Linked DNA regions of Homo sapiens: region 1 is linked to region 2. The links are contacts of gene promoters, found by promoter capture Hi-C in blood cells and fetal thymus (Javierre and others, 2016). All regions are on one chromosome and are shown on one strand. Each heading gives the region's core, a stretch centred on a gene start or on the middle of the fragment in contact. The rest is flanking DNA. Distances are from core to core; before and after follow the strand shown. Region 1 overlaps KLHDC10 (kelch domain containing 10). Region 2 holds the start of LINC-PINT (long intergenic non-protein coding RNA, p53 induced transcript).

Evidence for each region. The method cuts DNA at HindIII sites, captures the fragments that hold promoters and counts their contacts. A CHiCAGO score of 5 or more calls a contact.
Region 1: a fragment that was not itself captured here is called in contact with the fragment with the promoter of LINC-PINT in region 2 in 1 of 17 cell types (neutrophils); the score reaches 6.0 in neutrophils.

Annotation. Positions count from the first base shown.
Region 1 is chr7:130,075,498-130,081,615 of GRCh38, forward strand. The region is part of intron 1 of KLHDC10 (kelch domain containing 10); the gene reads left to right. Among named protein-coding and RNA genes, the nearest start is that of KLHDC10, 8.0 kb to the left of the region's middle. The HindIII fragment of the contact is 5,502 bases long and covers 1-4,202 here.
Region 2 is chr7:131,106,501-131,112,620 of GRCh38, forward strand. LINC-PINT (long intergenic non-protein coding RNA, p53 induced transcript) reads right to left here and starts at 3,425. Exons shown (of 8, transcript NR_170176.1): 1 at 3,237-3,425; 2 at 1,220-2,303. It also overlaps a transcript of MKLN1 not described here. RefSeq lists silencers at 1,314-1,363, 1,384-1,443, 3,501-3,550, 3,631-3,780, 4,931-4,990 and enhancers at 1,426-2,277, 4,672-5,213. The HindIII fragment of the contact is 3,581 bases long and covers 2,149-5,729 here.

The DNA of each region.
Region 1 (6,118 bases), core at 202-2,701, 1.0 Mb before region 2:
TCCTGTATATTTTTTCCAGGTTCAGGGGGGACGGGAGGGACTTTGTGGAGATGGTAGCATTCCTTTGTTTGGATGGGTATTTAAGATGTTTACAATCTTGCTAATACAAATAGTGATACAATGAATAGCCCTATACATATATAACTTTTGCACATGAGAGAGTCTTTCTTTAGGATAAATTTGTAGAAGTACAGTTTCTGGGTCAAAGGATTTATGTTTACTGCTTAAATTTTGATAGATTCTGTCAAATTTCAAGTTTATGTTTCCCTGTTGTTGTTCGAGTGCTGTCTTCCTTGTTCTTTTGGTAACGGAGTGGGTTATCAAACGTTATTTAAATTGTCAGTTTAATAGGAATAGTTTTCTTAAGTGTCTTTCCAATAGGTAGATAAAAGAGCCATTTATTTGTTTCCTTTATCTATAGATCTGTTTATATTTTTTGTTCATTTTTCTATTGGGATGGTTCATATTGTTTATAAAGGCGGTACCCAACCTTTTTGGCACCAGGGACCAGTTTCGTGGAAGACAATTTTTCCATGGACCGGGATGGTGGGGTGGAGGAGTGGGGGGAATGGTTTCAGGATGAAACTGTTCCACCTCAGGTCATCAGGCACTAGAGACTCAAAAGGAGTGCACAGCCTAGATCCCTTGCATGCACAGTTCACCGTAGAGTTAGCACTCCTATGAGAATCTAATGCTTGATCTGACAGGAGGCCAAGCTCTGGCGGGAATGCTCACTCGCCCACCACTCACCTCCTGCTATGTGGCCAGGTTCCTAACAGGCCATGGACCGGTACCAGGGGTCCATGGCCTGGGGCTTGCGGACCCCTGGTTTATAGGAACTCTGTATTTTAATGAAATCAGTTCTTAGCCATTGACACGTTGCAGATATTTTTCACAGTTTTTCATTTGCGTTTTGACTTTGTTTATGGTCTATTTTTTCATCAGAAATTAAATGTTTTAAATGTTTTGTTGTGAAATTTATCAGTCTTTTCAGAGTCTAGGTTTTGTGTCATAAGAAAGGCCTTTCCTATTTTATTATTATTTCTAATTCAAATTAAATATTCTTGTGTTTTCTCCAGGTACTTCTGTAATTTTATTTTTAAGTTAAATGCACTTACCCACACAAAATGTAAGTTAAATAAAGTGTCGAGGTGGGAATCCAACTATACTTTTCTTCCAGATGGCTGCCCAGTTATGGCAGTGTCCTTCATTTAGTTCAGCTTTGCCCTGCTGATTGAAATGTTGTCTATAGGTGTACTTAGTTCCTACAGTTTGAGGTTATTACTGGACTTTTATTCTGTTTCATTGATCAGATTACCTATTTATACCTAATGACTCTATTCCTTGGTTATCATCTTCCCTCATTCTACTTCCCAGAGTTTTCCTGGGAAGTTTTCTTTGTTTATTTTTCTATATGGCTTAGAATTAGCTAACCAAGTCCTGCTCCTCTGTCCTGTTGGCATTTTTATTGGTATTGTATTATATTTATAGATTAATTTAGAGATAATTGACATCGTTTTGAGGTTCAAAAACAGGGTCTATATTCATTTCTTTATGTTCAAGAACAGTATATGTGGCCAGGCATGGGGGCTCACGCCTTTAATCCCAACACTTTGGGATGCTGAGGCAGGCGGATCACTTGAGGCCAGGAGCTTGAGACCAGTCTGACCAACATGGGGAAACCCCATCTCTGCTAAAAATATAAAACTTAGCCGTTCTTGGTGGCAGGTGCCTGTAATCCCAGCTACTCGGGAGGCTGAGGCAGGAGAATTGTTGAACCTGGGAGGCAGAGGTTGCAGTGAGCCAAGATTGTGCCACTGCACTCCAGCCTGGGTGACTGAACAAGACTCTGTCTCAAAAAAAAAAAAAAAAAAAAAAAAAAAAACAGTATATGTATTTATTGTCATTCAAGTATTGTTTTGTATCTATCAACATTAAAAAGTTGTTTATTTTTTTATATAGGCCTCACATTTCTTATTATGTTTATTCCTTGGTGTTTATCTTGTTTGTTGCTATTGTAAATGGGGTTTCTACTACTTTCTTTTTTCTTTTTCTTTCTTTTTTTTTTTTTTTTTTGAGACGGAGTCTTGCTCTGTCGCCCAGGCTGGAGTGCAGTGGCACCATCTTGGCTCACTGCAAGCTCCGCCTCCCGGGTTCACGCCATTCTCCTGCCTCAGCCTCCCAAGTAGCTGGGACTACAGGCACCTGCTACCACGCCCAGCTAATTTTTTGTAGTTTTAGTAGAGATGGGGTTTCACCATGTTAGCCAGGATGGTCTCGATCTCCTGACCTCGTGATCCACCGGCCTCGGCCTCCCAAAGTGCTGAGATTACAGACGAGAGCCACCGCGCCCGGCCGGGGTTTCTACTTTCTTTTATAACTTTTATGTGGTTGTTTGAATATGAGAATGCTATTAAATTTTGAGTATTAATTTTATACCTAGCCACGTTAAGAATTCTAATATTATCTATAATAGTTTCCCAGTTGTTTTTCTAGAGAATAACAGGTATAGCTAAATAATCATATCATTACTGAATAATGATAATTTTATCTTCTCCTTTTCATTTTTTTTTCTTTTTTTTTAAATAGGCCTGGCGTGTTGGCTCATGCCTGTAATCCCAGCACTTTAGGAGGCTGAGGCGGGCGGATCACTTGAGGGCAGGAGTTTGAGACCAGCTTGGCCAATATGGTGAAACCCCGTCTCTACTGAAAACACACACAAAAAAATTAGCCGGATGTGGTAGTGCATGCCTATAGTCCCAGCTGCTCAGGAGGCTGAGGCAGGAGAATCGCTTGAACCCTGGAGGCGGAGGTTGCAGTCAGCAAAGATTGCGCTATTGCACTTCAGCCTGGGTGACAGAGCAAGACTCCGTCTCCAAAAATAAAAAATAAATAAAAATAAAATAAAATAGAGATGGAGTCTTGCTATGTTGCCCAGGCTGATCTCAAACTCCTGGGCTCAAGTGATCATTCTGTCTTGGCCTCCCGGGATTACAGGTATAAGCCTCCGCGCCCTGCCTTCCTTTTCACTCTTTTTTTGAGACAGAGTCTCGCTCTGTCACCCAGGCTGGAGTGCAATGCCGCAGTCTTGGCTCACTGCAACCTCTGCCTCCCGGGTTCACGCCATTCTCCTGCCTCAGCCTCCCGACTAGCTGAGACGACAGGCGCGTGCCACTACACCCGGCTAATTTTTTGTATTTTTAGTAGACACGGGGTTTCACCGTGTTAGCCAGGATGGTCTCGATCTCCTGACCTCGTGATCCACCCTCCTCGGCCTCCCGAAGTGTTGGGATTACAGGCGTGAGCCACCGCGCCTGGCCCCTCCTTTCACTTTTGATACTTATTTCTTTATTTTGTTCAATTGATTTCGCTAGTACTTTCCAAAAATACTAAACAATAAGATAGTAGTGGAGCTTTGTCCTATTCCTTACTTCAATCAGATATTTTTAATGCTTTCCTATTAAGATTAGATCTGGCTTTAGATTGAAGCGTACATATTTTATCATGTTAAAGTATTCAGCTGTTACTGTTTTTTTAAAGTTTTTGTTTTGTTTTGTTTTTGTTTTTTGTTTTTTTTTGAGGCAGAGTCTCACTCTGTTGCCTAGGCTGGAGTACAGTGGCTCGATCTTGGCCCTCTGCAACATCCGCCTCCTGGGTTCAAGTGATTCTCCTGGCTCAGCCTCCCGGGTAGCTGGGATTACAGGTGCCCGCCACAACGTCTGGCTAACTTTTGTGTTTTTGGTAGAGACAGGGTTTCACCATGTTGGCCAGGCTGGTCTTGAACTCTTGACCTCAAGTGATTCGCCCACCTCGGCCTCCCAAAGTGCTGGGATTACAGGTATGAGTCACCATGCCAGGCCTAAAGTATTTTTTTTAATAAATACTTTATTTAAAAAATGTATTTTATTAGAAGTAATGTTGCTAATGCCTTTTCAGCATCTATGGGAATTATAATGTAATTTTTGTCCTTTGATCTATTATTGTGGTAGATTGTATTAATGGATTTATTGTTACTGAACCATTCTTGTGTTCCTGAATTAACTTACTTTGTCGTGGTGTATTAGTATTTTAAACGTACTGCTGGGTTCTGTTTGCTAAACTTTACTTAGAAATTTTGCATCACTCCTCATAGGCGTTTTCATTTTCCTTTCTGTTTTTTTTATTGTGTTATTTTTGTTTCCACTTTTATAAAACTATTTCAAAGCTTGCCTGCCTGCCTGCCTTCCTGCCTTCCTTCCTTCCTTCCTTTTTCCTTCCCTCCCTCCCCCTCCCCTACCTCCTCCCTTCCCACACCTCCTCCCTCCCTTGCTTCCTTACTCCCTTGCTCCCTGCCTCCCTTTCTCGCTTCCTCCTTCCCTCCCTTCCTCCCTTTCTTCCTCCCTCCCTCCCTTCCTCCCTTTCTTCCTCCCTCCCTCCCTTCCTCCCTTTCTCGCTTCCTCCTTCCCTCCCTTCCTCCCTTTCTTCCTCCCTCCCTCCCTCTGTCGCCCAGGTTGGAGTGCAGTGGTGCAATCATAGTTCACTGCAGCCTTGAATTCCTGGGCACATGCCAACCTCTTGCTTTAGCCTCCTAAGTAGCTAGGACTACAGGCGTGCACCACCACACCCAGCTTATTTTTAATTTTTTTGTAGAGATAAGGCCTTGCTATGTTGCCTAGGCTGGTTGCAAACTCCTGGCCTCCAGTCATCCTCTCACCTCAGCCTCCCAAAGTACTAGGATTACAGGCATGAGCCACTGTGCCTGGCCCTTCCTTTCTTTTTCTATGCATTTTTTCCCCTCTGTGGTTAAATGGCATTGAAGTTAAAGGTTTTGTGGAATTCCCCATGAAGTCATTTGGACCTCCTCTTTTTTAGGGGGTAGAAGAAGCTCTTAGACAATTATATTGTCCAATTATATCATACTTCTTAGTTTTTTTGAGACAGGGTCTCACACTGTTGCCCAGGCTGGAATGCAGTGGCACAATCATGGGTCACTGCAGCCTCAACCTCCTGGGCTCAAGGGATCCTCCTTCCTTAGCCACCTGAGTAGCTGGGACTACAGGTGTACACCACTACACCTGGCTAATTAAAAAAAATTTTTTTTTTGTAGCAGTGGGGTCTCAATGTTGCCCAGGCTGGTCTTGAATTCCCAAGCTCAAGCAATCCTCCCACCTCGGCCTCCCAAAGTGCTGGGATTATAGGTGTGAGCTACCGTGTGCAGACCAATTATATCATTCTTTGATAGTTGGCTGCTTACAATTTATATCTTTTGGGGGTAGCTTTGATAATTTATGTTATCCTAGAAAATCACCCAGTTCATCCAGATTTTCAAAATTATTTGTGCGAATTGACCAAGGTATTCTTTTATGATTACACAATTATTTCCTGGATTTGCAACTACTCATTATCATTTCTTATTTTGTATTATGTGAGGCTTTGCCCTTTCTTGTTTATAACCGGCTCTTGGATTTTTAAAACTTAGTTCCAATATTTTCTTTTTTTATTAATTTGTTTCTTTCAGTTTTCTTTTTTTTTTTTTTTTTGAGACGGAGTCTCGCTCTGTCACCCAGGCTGGAGTGCAGTGGCGTGATCTTGGCTCACTGCAAACTCTGCCCTCTGGGTTCACGCCATTCTCCTGCCTCAGCCTCCTGAGTAGCTGGGAATATAGGCGCCCGCCACTACACCCGGCTAATTTTTTGTATTTTTAGTAGAGACGGGGTTTCACCGTGTTTAGCCAGGATGGTCTCGATCTCCTGACCTGGTGATCCACCCGCCTCGGCCTCCCAAAGTGCTGGGATTACAGGCGTGAGCCACCGCGCCTGGCCTCTTTTATATATTTTTTTTTGTTTGTTTTTTATTTTTGAGATGGAGTCTCTCCCTTGTCACTCAGGCTGCAGTGCAGTGGCATGATCTTGGCTCACTGCAACCTCTGCCTCCCCGGTTCAAGCTATTCTCCTGTCTCAGCCTCCCCAGTAGCTGGGATTACAGGCGCACGCTGCCACGCCCCACTAATTTTTTGTATTTTAGTAGAGACAGGGTTTCACCGTGTTGCCCAGGCTGGTTTTGAACTCCTGAGCTCAGGCAGTCCACCTGCCTCGGCCTCCCAAAGTGCTGGGATTACAGGCATGAGCCACTGCACCCG
Region 2 (6,120 bases), core at 2,175-4,674:
TTCCCCGTGACGAAGCTCACCCTCGCCCTGATGTCGCCACTCACCCAGCAGCGGGCTGCGAGCTGGAGCAGACGTTAACACCGAGGGAGGACTGAAGGGAACGTCTTGATTTTTCTCCTTAATTTGCCACAGACACAGGGAAAAAAAAAAAAAAACAAAAACAGCAGACGCAGCTCTACCTTTGCGCTGGCTTTAAAGCTTTTAAGCTCCCCACGTCATCCTACCCCATGCAACAGACTTACCGAATAGCAATGCCCACCCCACACACCTGCTAGGTAACTCGCCTTCTGGAAATCGGGGGCCCCACCCACCCCGCCTTCTGGAAACCTGCGCCTGGGGTGGGGTTGAAGAGACACTGTCTGGTATCCTAAAGTCAGAGGGCGTGAGGAGACCGGCGCCCTTCGCCCCACCCAGGCGCGCTGCACCCTCCGGTCCCCGTCTCTAGAGTGCACCAAGGCATCCTGCGTCCCTGCCGGAGAAAAGAGGGACGGGGCCAGAGGCCCGAGTTCCAGGGAGTTGCTGATTCCAGTGGAGAACCGAGACACCGCGTCCTTTCTAATTAATAAGCACGCCACCCCCTACCTCCAACCCCCCCCCCCGCCCCGCCTTTATTTCTTGTTGACAGCAAAGGTGGGGGACGTGGGAGAAAGGCAAGAGTTGTCTCTAGGTTCGGGATGTTGGGCTGCGCGGAGGGAAGAGGTGGGATCTCGAAATGGAAACAGTCCCCCCTTCCTCCCCCCTCCCCTCCTCCTCCTCCTCCTCCTCTTCTTCTGTTTACCTCAAGTTTGAATTTTATCTGCGCAACATTAGCTGGAATGCGGACATTGAAAAAAAAAAAAAAACACTCTCTCAGCCCGGCAGCAGCTCCGGAGGAGCCATGTGGCATCAAGCCACAGCAAAGGGGAAAAAGTGCTCTTAGCAACACAAACATGGCGAAATCGCTCTCACAAGCCGGGTTCCCGCGACAGCCCTACCTTCCCCCGCTCGCCTTCCGAACGTCCTGGCCAGGAACCGCAGACCCCTTCCGGGGGACGGCGAGGGGGCCCCGGGCTGAGCGAGGGTGGGCGCACGGGGCGTGCTAAGGGGAAATTGACTAGCCAGCCGATCAGCTCCGCCGGCAGCGGAGGGGACGCCTTCTTCACGCCCTGAGATCGCAAAGGAGAGCAAAATTCCCATCCCAAAGTCCTGCGGGACCGGCTTCCCCACCCGACGAACTTACCCCAGGGCTGAACGCACGCTGCTTTAGCTCCTTGCCTCGTTCCTTCCTCCCGGGCGCGACGCGAGGTGAAAATGATGCGCACGTAGATTTGTAGAGCGTATTCTTGAGAATTTCCCTGGGATGAATCGGGAGGAGCGGTGGAGACTCCGGAGACAGGTGCCGCGCTGGTCTGGGCTGCCGGCTAAAAGTTGTCCTCCGCGCGGTGGGCGGTGGGGTCCCCGGCCAGGGCCAAGGACCCCGGCTCCCTGCCCCCCGGCGTCGCCCACTTGTCACGCCAGGCTGCTGCGTGCACTCGGCTGCAGGGGAGGTGGCGTAGTTTCTCTTCCTCCCACCTCTTCTCACTCACTTGTTTTTGTAGCCGTGGGCTCCCCTAATGCTTTCCTCTCCACAATGTTGTTTCATTATATCATGTCCATCATGTGACACCAGAGAGGCCTCTCTATGGAAACTTAAAGGGGCTCCCACGTGACTGCAGCAGCAACAACAGCAGCAGGACTGGCGGCGGCGGCCGCAGCGGCGTCCGTACCTCCACCCACCGGGAGCCCCTCGAAGCATCCCGGAGGGGCTTCTGGCGCTGCAGGAGCCCCGATCGGGGAGCCACAGCATCCGGGAGCCGTGGTGTCTGTGCGTGCGTGGAGCCTGTGCTCATGACATAGGAAGCCGAACAGAAGGAGCGTCCTCAAATCCTTTCCTACAGTCACCAAACCCACGCTCTGTTAAAATGACATTTCGTGGCTCCTACTTTGTTTCCCCGGAGAGCAATGAGTTTTCTATCAGGCCTGATTTAGTTTGACAAAAGTCAAAAAGAAAAACTGGATTTGTCCCTCTGCGAGTTCAGTCAGATCGCTGGGAAAACAGAAATGACAAAACAATAATAACAGAAATAGAACCAGGCATTTGATACATAATTACCATCACCACGGCTTTCAAGCTTTCTGGAATTACGTTCCTCCAGTAACTGTTGATGATGCTTGCAGGAGGCAAAATGCAATGCAGTTTTTCTCTTCCGCAGCTATATTAGGGCTTTGTTGCTGACAACAGTGAAAACTTGTTTGTGTCAGGAAGTGAGGTACGGAGATATGACCTGGAAGGTACAGACAAAACCAAAGTGGCAGTTTTTGCATTACTTTTCTGACCACATTCTTTCAAATGGTGACAAGAAGGCGGTCTGCTGTAAAATTCGTGGGGTGTTTGATGGGAAACAAAATAATCAGAAAAACATAATTATCCCTAGCCATACCATACTTGCTAGACGCTAGAAAGTATACATATATGTAATCTCTGTATACATAGAGAAAGCAAAAAGCATGTGCACTTTAATATTTTTGAACCACTAATTTTGTCATCATTTGTACCATTAACAAACACTTGGAAAGACTCACTCAAGTCCAGGGATGTGTGGAAACTCACAATGTTGAGTGCTGTGGGTATTACTGACTCACAGTCCCTTAAAGGGTTTGTACCATAAATCCCAAATTTCTGCCTTAAAGTTTTTACAGACATGGAGATTTTATCCTGTAAATCTAAGCCAGATAGCTATTTCTGGGTTTTTTAGTTCATGCTTTTCCATTTTATAAAGGAAACTGTGTGGATTGGCGGAATCAAGAAAAACTTCGCAAGAAACTGAAGAGTGGGATGGAAGATCTTTTCGTTTGGCCTTGCCTTGACTCTGTCTCTCTCCACCTCATCAGTTTACTTCATCAGCCATGATGAATGAGCTCCATTCCAACCCTTCTAATTCTATAATATCTCTCCCAAGTTTTACCTTCCTATCTCATGCCTAATTCTTTTCATCCCTTTCCTCCTACCTCCCTTGCCTCCCAACTCAGCCCCTTTTCTGCCTGGGGGCTCAGCTCGGGCCTCCCCAAAGACTGTACCCCCCACCCTCCCCTGCAGCTACCCCCACCCCCACGCCCTTCCCAGCTCGGCCTCTCTTCTTTGCAACTCTACCTCCTTACCTCTTTTGACCTCTAATCACCTTCACAGTCTGGCCCTTGACTTCTGGGCCTCTTCTTACCTCTCTTTACCTGAAATGTCCTGGCCCTCACTGGGGTCTCCTCCACACCCTTCTCTCTGGTCCCATCCCTTCTGCTGCCAAGCCCCAGCGTTCCTCCGGCTCGGCCTGGTCAGCTTGAGCCTCATTTTGTTCGCGTGCCCCTGGGCTGGGAAAGGAGTGTGTGGTGCACAGTGGGGCCAAGGATCCCCTGGGGCCGCGGCCTCTGCCTCGCCCCCTCCACCCCTCCCGAGTCCCGGTTGCGGCGCTTCCTGGGCGGATGGCTTGAAATTGCTGCAGCAGCTGCGGTTCTGCTGTGTCATGCAAGAAGGAGGCGGCGGCGGCGGCGGCGGCGGCCGGAGCTGGAGGGGGAGGAGGGGAGGAACCTGATCCTCCGGTAGCGAAGGGCTAGAGGCAAACACCGAGCTCCTCCAGAGCCGCCCGGGAGCAGGGAGGGCTCCGCTAGCCCGGGGGGCCCTCCCCGCGGGGCAGATGGTAAGTGGGGCGGTGCAGGTGGTCGCCTTGGGAAGGGAGCGCGCAGGGGGGTAAGGTGGGGCGGCGGGAAGTGCTAGAAGTCACCCCAGCCAAACTGAAGGAGCCCAGTTTCCAGCTGAGAGGGACCCAGGCCGTAATAAGGATGTCCAGCCAAACGCAGCAATAATTACTATTGGAGTGACGCCCCGAAGTTGACCCCAAGCTACACAGAGGGTGGAGTGGTGCATCCTGAACCCAGGACAGAGCTGGAGGCAATGATTCAGGGTTTGAGAAGTATCAGCCCATCGGCCTGGCGCTTTAAGGTGCAGCTGAGTAGGAAAAGCCAACCCACATCATATTCCCAGAGCCTTGCTGCGCTTTCTGGGTTGTCTTGTTCAAAACTAGTGAAAGGGATGGGAAACCTGCCCAACCTCACTTTAGCCACGAAAATAATGCTCTTGGCCAGTGGCCTTGGACAAACAGCCTCTGGTGCAACAAAACAATCAATAGGAAGAAGAACTTCATTCCCCTCACCATCCTCCTTCCCCAAGTTCCTTTGACCAGCATACCTCATTCGGCTTAAAGGAGAAAGAAAACTATGTGTGACATTCCCTCCCAGCCTACCTGCAGCCAGCCTCCTCACCACACAAACTGCCCATCCCGCTTCTCTCCTCATCTTCAGAGCCATGATTCCAAGAGACATTGCAATACTACTCACTTTAGGTGAGAAGACTGCCTGAAACTCTGAACAATTTCACCTCCCTTGCCCTTTGCCACAGGGGATTCAGAAACCTACAACTGAGAGCAGGGAAATATACGGACAGGCTTGGCACGTAGGAACATTACTTCCTTCACTGGAGTGTAGTTCTCCAGACAACTTTTTAATTATGATTATTCCCTTCCATTGCACTCCTGGAAATTTCAAAGCACTTTCTAAAACATCATTTTTTTTATGTCAGTCATACATTTAGAGGTAAGGGGTTGATGGGATTAACTGAAAGGCTAATGACTGTCTCAAAAGCACATGCTGTTGCTAGGGAACCCAAGCTCCTGCTGCTCTCTAATCACCAGCGTGTTCCGTGGAAATCAAACTGCTCAGGGTGTTATTAAAATGAATGGCATCGGGTTAAAGGCATTCTTGCTTATGTTGTAGCATCCTGGATTATTATCGATTGCCTCACACCCACATATCTTGTTTTCCTAATTTGATTTCTGTATTTGCGTCACTGCCAGGGACACTCAGACTAGACCAGTCAGTTCACTTCCTGTTTCTCAGAACTGGTTTATATTTGGTCTCGTAGCACTAGCTGGTAAAACATTATCAAACTGATCCTCTTGGAAAGAAATCTTTGCTTCCCATTGAAAACAAAATATTCCAATTAAATTGTAATTCCTGTGGAAAACGTCATCATTTGAGGAGTAGACTGCCAGTTGCCATTTGAGAAACAATCCTTGAAATGTAAAGCCTAGAAAAAAAAAACATCATCTTGATTTCTTTTACCCAGAATCTTCATTCCTCAGCACTAGAACTAAGACAAACTCGAGTAAAGAGTAGATTTAAGTATACTTCTAAAATGAAACGCATAAATAAATAAATAAATAAATAAATAAATACATGTCGAAGCTGGGGAAATCATTTAGACTAAACAAGGCATAAAATTGAATGGAATCCAGGCCCAGGAAGGACAAGTAATTTTGGGTTAGCATTGTGGCATTCGGAGAACACAGTGTGACTACAAGGCTACACTACAAATAGGAAACCCCATCACTTTGTGTACTAATTGTCTTTTTTACCAATTCCTCTATGTCCCTGGACAAGACAACCTTGTTTTGTTTTGTTTGTTTTCAGTTCCTTCCTCTTTATAACAAGGATATTGCAAAGGCAATATCAGAAAGATAAGCCCTATGTAAATAGGTGGATTCTGATGTAGATAATTTGTTTAGATGGAAAATGAAGCCCTTTGAAAAAGATGTATAATGGCATCGATAGCCTGGATGACCTTGAGTGAGCCATTGTAGGTCTTATGTCAGTTTCTTCGTGGAAGCTTAAATGAAAGTGCTGGACTAAAGGATTTCTAAGGTTCCTCCCATTTACAAACTTCTGTGATGAGATTGAACTCACTACATAAAAATTTCAATTTTAGCTGGATTTTGCAATGTTAAATTTAAGCACTGAACCTTTAATATCTATCCATAGGAACCTTGAGGGAAATGATGGGAAATGACTTTCTATTGATGTATCCATTTTTAGTGTCTGTTGACAGAAAAATAAAATTTACCTTGCTCCCCATGTACTTAGTCTCTCCCTGCCTCAGTGGTATTATGGAAGCAACAGGATAAGAGTTACAAAAGGATATAAAAGTATAGAGAAAGTTCTTTCAGTCTACTCACTTATTTATTATGACAACGTGTCACTGTGTTACCCAGGCTGGCC